Regions from separate parts of the Homo sapiens genome. Here region 2 is linked to region 1. Evidence: promoter capture Hi-C in 16 types of primary human blood cells and fetal thymus (Javierre and others, 2016). All regions are on one chromosome and are shown on one strand. The core of a region is centred on a gene start or on the middle of the fragment in contact, and the rest is flanking DNA. Distances in the headings are between cores, read along the strand shown.

What was found. Contacts are between HindIII fragments. The CHiCAGO score rates a contact against its expected background, and 5 or more counts as called.
Region 2: a contact is called between a fragment that was not itself captured here and the fragment with the promoter of PSTPIP2 in region 1, in 2 of 17 cell types (erythroblasts and monocytes). The highest score is 7.8, in erythroblasts.

Annotation. Positions count from the first base shown.
Region 1 is chr18:46,070,891-46,073,751 of GRCh38, forward strand. It overlaps PSTPIP2 (proline-serine-threonine phosphatase interacting protein 2), which reads right to left and starts at 1,370. Exons shown (of 15, transcript NM_024430.4): 1 at 1,266-1,370. The coding sequence starts at 1,298. RefSeq lists enhancers at 1-55, 1,275-1,776 and silencers at 906-1,285, 1,326-1,375, 1,506-1,665. The HindIII fragment of the contact is 16,135 bases long and covers 1-2,861 here.
Region 2 is chr18:45,667,462-45,670,322 of GRCh38, forward strand. SLC14A2 (solute carrier family 14 member 2) reads left to right here. Exons shown (of 20, transcript NM_007163.4): 14 at 372-561; 15 at 888-1,016; 16 at 1,845-2,037. All of the region lies in intron 7 of LOC105372093 (a long non-coding RNA gene), which reads right to left. Among named protein-coding and RNA genes, the nearest start is that of SLC14A2, 53 kb to the left of the region's middle. The HindIII fragment of the contact is 7,663 bases long and covers 1-2,861 here.

The sequences.
Region 1 (2,861 bases), core at 120-2,619:
TTATTTCTGGGGCCCACATCTCATTCTCCAGTTTGTATTATACAGAGCCTTTTTCCCACAGTGCCTGCCATGGGATCCCCCAGTCCTCCATTCTACCTGAAAAACTCGCAAGCCTCCCGTGAGAGCCATCTGTGGTGCCCTTGGTTCCTCTGTGAGGCTGCCACCACCCTGCACCCTAGGGTGAGTAGTGCCCCAGAAGGACCTCACAAACTCCAGTGAAGGGACTCACAGGCACAGTCTCAACTGTGTCCCTGAGGTCCCCAGCCAGGTTTCTCTACCCTGCAGCCCACGTGGGGTAGAGGGACCATCTAGGCAGCTGTGAAGCTACCTGGGTGGGTGGTGGGGGGAGGCAAGCAGGAGCCCCAGTAAGGAGTCAGGGCCCCTTGGCAGCTGCGGTCAACTTTGAGGTTTGCAGCCTCCTGCTCCTGTCTTAAAGGGATGAGGACAGCTCCTCTGAATGAGGGGGCATGGACCTTGAGGGGCACCTGGGGAGTGAGAGGACAGAGGGAAGAGGACTAGACAGAGGAGGGGGACAGGCAGACCTGCTCCCTCCAGGCTGGGCTGGCCCTACCGGGCTGGGTGGGGTACCCCCTCCAGCTTATAGGGTCTCCCACACCATCAGCCCCGCTATGGGGCCTGGACGGAAGGGCTGGGGCAATGGCCTGGGGAGGGGGCTCGGGAAACAAGGCTGTAGAACAGGGAAAGCTCCAGCAAAGGGAAGCCCTCTATGCTGTACGTTTCCTGGAAAGGACGATCCCGGGGGGCAGCTGCTGCTGTCAACCCGGTAAAGCTCACAAGCCCCCACACCAGATCCCCCCAGATCCTCTCACGGCTCAGCTCCAGGGACCGGCAGAGACTCTCCCCGGACGGGTCTCGCCTCCCTAAGGGTCTCTGCTTCGCCTGTGAGAGGAGGGGTTGATGTCCTGACTCTAAGGTGTCTCGGCTCTCTGCGTCCTCAGGAGCACGCGCTGCTGGGGGCGCGGGCGGCAGAGGGTGGGCCCTGGAGTCCGAGCCCCCGGGACTCGCGGGCACGCGGTGGGTAGCGGGGGACAGAGAGGGAACAGCAGCCCGGCGTCCGCTCCAAGTCTGCCCCTCGAGCAGTGGGGCTGGGGCCCCGATCCCTTCACGCGCGAGCTCCGCCAAGCCCCCGGGCGCGCGGTCACCGAGTGGCGCCGGAGCTGGGGAGCCCCCCACGCCCGCCGCGTTGGCCTCCCGCCCGGGCCGGGTCCTGAGCCCCGCGATCCGCTGTCGGCCCCACGACTTACCCAAAAGTTTCCCTTGAACAGTGAGCGCGTCATCGCAGCGCGAGTGGGGGCGCGGAGGAGAGCCGGGCCGCAGGTAGCACAGAGCGGGGAGGCCTGACTGCCACTGCCCGCGGCTCCGCAGACTCAACTTCTGCGTTCCACACTCGCGCAGGGAAGCCGCCCCCGGGTCCTAAACCACTCCCGATTGCGACGGCCGCCGTCGGCGCTCTGCGCTCCCTGCGCGAGACCTGGGCGGGACCCTCGGCGCTCACCCGGCCAGGGGCTGCAGCCCGCACCCGGACCCAGGCCCATTTAAAGCCCCACAGCGTCGGGCCACGATCAATATATCAGCCCGAAGCTAGCTGCCTCCTTCTGGAAGTCTTTGGGTATTGGAAATAACTGGTCCTGGCTTGGGTTCCTGCCCACAAGGCCCCCTGGACAGCACGAAATCCAGGCTCTGCGGGGTGATAGACGGGATCTGATCAGATGGTCGCGAGGACCCGGTTTAAGCTACAGAAGGCCTGGGGCCGACAACTCCCGCAGACGCCTTGGCTTCACGGCGGGCCCCACCGGCACCTGCTGCAGATCAGGCCCTGGGGGACGGTTCATTTTTTATTTTACTTTTTGTTGTTGCAGGTGTTTTTAATGAATGGGGTCACGTTTTAGTCTAAAATGTCATGGAGAGGTCATCTCTGCTGTTTCCCCTTGACTCTAGTCACTTGGTGGTGTCCTAACAGGGCTTCCAGGAGCTCAGCCGCTCTCTGACTCCCTTTCCATTCTCAAAAGGCAAGACCCTTCCCTGCCCATTCCACCCCAGCAAGAGGGGCCCAAGATTCCTTCTTCTCCCTCCACTCTTCCACCCTCACAAATAAAACCCCAGGGCAGGTCAGACCCCTCTCTGCATTGTAGTAGATTGGTACAAAAGTAATTGCGGTTTTTGCCATGACTTTTAATAGTAATGCAGGGCTTATGACAAAGTACTGCCTGGTGCGACAGGCCCGAAGCCCAACCTGAGGCCCAGAGGGGTTGAATGGCTTGCCCAAGATCACAGTTTATTTAAGGGATGAAGAGCTCAAGGTTAGAGCTCTGCCCTTCTAAATAGATGCAAAGACAGACATCCTTCCTGGGGCAGATCCATCCTGGGCAGAGGAATAGGTGCTCAAAGTGGGGAGGATAAAGGTCAAGGTTGCCAAGACTGGCACCAGCCCAGCCTGGAGAAGCAAGCACTCACCCCTGGAGCAGGTTCTAGCTACACCCAGACACAGTGAAAGGGCAATTGCTAGAATTATGTGAAGCACCTGGAACAAGTTCTGCTCCATAAAACTGCAGCCAGCCCCACTCAGATGAACTCCCACCAATAAAGTCATCCACAACTGCAAAGATGGAGAGGTGGCCTCCAGCCACCAAGCATCTCCAAGGGATGCATCCATTTACGTACTTGCTCATATCCTTTGAAAGCAGTGAGATTAGAAGGAAGGCAGAGAAGCCTGGCAGAACCATCAAGGGGCAGCAGAGGACGTGGTAGGCACTAGGAAGCTAGGCTTAACTGCAGGGGGTAAGAAATGGCACAAACTGGGGACATAGAAGCGGGAGAGCTGAAGACACCACTAAGGTTTT
Region 2 (2,861 bases), core at 193-2,692, 400 kb before region 1:
CAATAGGTTCTCTTTAGCAATCTTTCCAGAGCTCAGCCCATGGGTTTAATGCCCTCTATGCAGCAAGAACATGTTCTTGAAAATTCATGGTACCACCACAGGGGTCAGAGGCAGCTCAGGGCACCTAATCCCCCCTGCCAGAAAAACAACCTGGAGGTCACATCTGGCTGGTGATGGGTCTCAAGAGTTTTCTTGGCAGTCAGATGCTCTCTTGAGTTCCTTGTTTACCATCTTTGGTGGCAGGTGACAGCAGGTGGCTGGCTTCCTGCAAACCCACTTCGGATATCCAGATTCCCTCACACCCTCCATCTGCCCACCCAGGGCTGCCCACACTGAGCACTTGCCTACTTCCTGCCCCGGTTCCATTTCAGACAAGTCCCCAGTGTTCCAGTTCTTTGACTGGGTCCTCCGAGGCACATCTCAAGTGATGTTTGTGAACAACCCCCTCAGCGGCATCCTCATCATCCTCGGCCTCTTCATCCAGAACCCCTGGTGGGCGATCTCAGGCTGCCTGGGTACCATCATGTCCACCTTGACAGCCCTCATCCTGAGTCAGGACAAGTAAGTCCCAGAGGCTCAGGGTCCAAACATGTAGCCAAGAAGTCACTCCCCATGGGGACCATTCTTCCTCTTCCCAGCTGAGAAATCCTCAAAATAAGGACACTGACAACTAAAAATGACTGTTCCCTGGTTATTTTGTCATAGCAACATATTTCTAGAGAAATATGAAGGATTCATAGGGTTGTCTTCCTTCCCCACTCCCAGAAGGGTGGTCTATTTGAAGGCGTGTGTAGTCAGGCCCCAGATAAAAAGAATCTGACTCAATAGGAAAATGTAAAGGGCCCTGGGGAAGCCCCTGCTCCACCTGACCCTCCCTCTCCTGCCAGGTCGGCCATCGCTGCAGGATTTCACGGCTACAATGGGGTGCTGGTGGGGCTGCTGATGGCCGTGTTCTCAGACAAAGGTGACTACTACTGGTGGCTGTTGCTACCCGTCATCATCATGTCCATGTCTTGGTAAGTTTGCTTTTGAAGGGTTGTGGGTTCATATCAATGGCCACCAACCTTTTCATCCCAATCCCATGACCGTCTGTCTAAACGTGATATTAAAGTGGCATGTATTTAGCTTGCACATCAGAAATGTCCACTGGACTAATAACTAAGTTTATACCATGGTAGCCCCATGCTAGGTCTATACACAGTATCCCATTAGCGACCACCCTTTATTATTCTTTTAAGATCTAAATGGTTTTTGGTCTCACCCTGCCAGAGTGCAGAGAAAGAAACTGAGGCCCACATTGGTTAAGAGCTGCACTATAGGGTCCTGTCAGTTTCTGGAAATCTTTTCAACCCTCCCCTACCCCGGCTTTTCTAAATCCTTGGGACCCCTGAGCAGACCAAGACCACCTCCCAGGGTAGGCTGAAGGCCCAGCCATGGGGAAGCCCTCAGTGCCTGCTCTACCCCATGTTGAGAAAACACAGGGCACCCTGGCCACAAAGCCCATGCACACAGCCACTCAAAAAAACATTTGTTGAATGAATGTGATTCCCTCCCCTCGGCCTCCCCAACCTGATGCCTGGGGATGGAGCTATAGGATTCCTGAAGGAAGTTCTGAGACTGCCTGCCTTATATCTTCTTCTGAAGTTGAGTCTGGGTGCCCCACCCTGTCACTGTGCAGGGAGGAAGAGGCCCAGGGAAAGACCTGCTCAGGGCCAGTCAGGCTCCAGAGAATACCCAGCAGGCTGCTTTTCTCTAGGAAGGCACAGGGAGCCCCCACTGCAGCACAGTCTAGTGTTATGACCAGGCGGCTTCCTGACCAGCATCTCTCATGCTTCTGCCATCAGCCCCATCCTCTCCAGTGCCCTGGGTACCATCTTCAGCAAGTGGGACCTCCCAGTCTTCACACTGCCCTTCAATATCACTGTGACTTTGTACCTGGCAGCCACGGGCCACTACAACCTTTTCTTCCCCACAACGCTGCTGCAGCCTGCATCCGCCATGCCCAACATCACCTGGTCAGAGGTCCAAGTGCCCTTGGTACGTATCATGGAAGGAGGAAGGGCAGGTCTGTCCACACTGGATGTTACTGGCATTTGCATATTTTGCACATCAGAAACATCCACAAGTAATAATTTTTAACAATTACACAGTACCAAGCATTCTACATATATATCTCATGAGCTGCCATCCTTTTCTACTTCTGAGAGCAAAAAGGGCTAGTTTTGGTCTCACTCTATGATAGCACAGAGAAGGAAACTGCGGCCACGTTAAGAGACCTGCCTTAGGTCTTACAGCCAATTAGGGAGGAGCAAAGTCAAGACTAGAACTTCAGCCTCCTGACTTCCAGCCTGGGCTCTTTGTGGATGTTTAAAAAGTCTTTTTGAGGCTTACAGCTTGCGTTGTGCATTTTCTTTCATTCAATCACACGGAATCATTCAAGTCGTACACATCATGCTACCATCTATTGGCTTAAGAAGTCGTTGTTCCAACCTCCAGAGTTTATTCCCTTCACTCACCAAAGCTGGGCCTGGTGGCACATGCCTATAGTCCCAGCTACTCAGAAGGCTGAGGTGGGAGGATCGCTTGAGCCCAGGAGTTTGAGGCTGCAGTGCGCTGTGATTGTGTCACTGCACTCCATGAGACTCTATCTCCAAAACAAAAACAAAAACCCCAAAATCAAATCGTTTTCTTGCTAAATACTGGTGCTTCTCAGTGTAAACTCAGGGCTTTTTCTACTACACCATGCTGTTGGTTTTAAAGCACAGGTGTTCTTTCATTAAGAAACATATAACAGAGCTTTTAAAGTTTTTTTTAATAAGTATTCTGTATATAATCCTGACCTCTGGAAGTCAGCCAAGGTG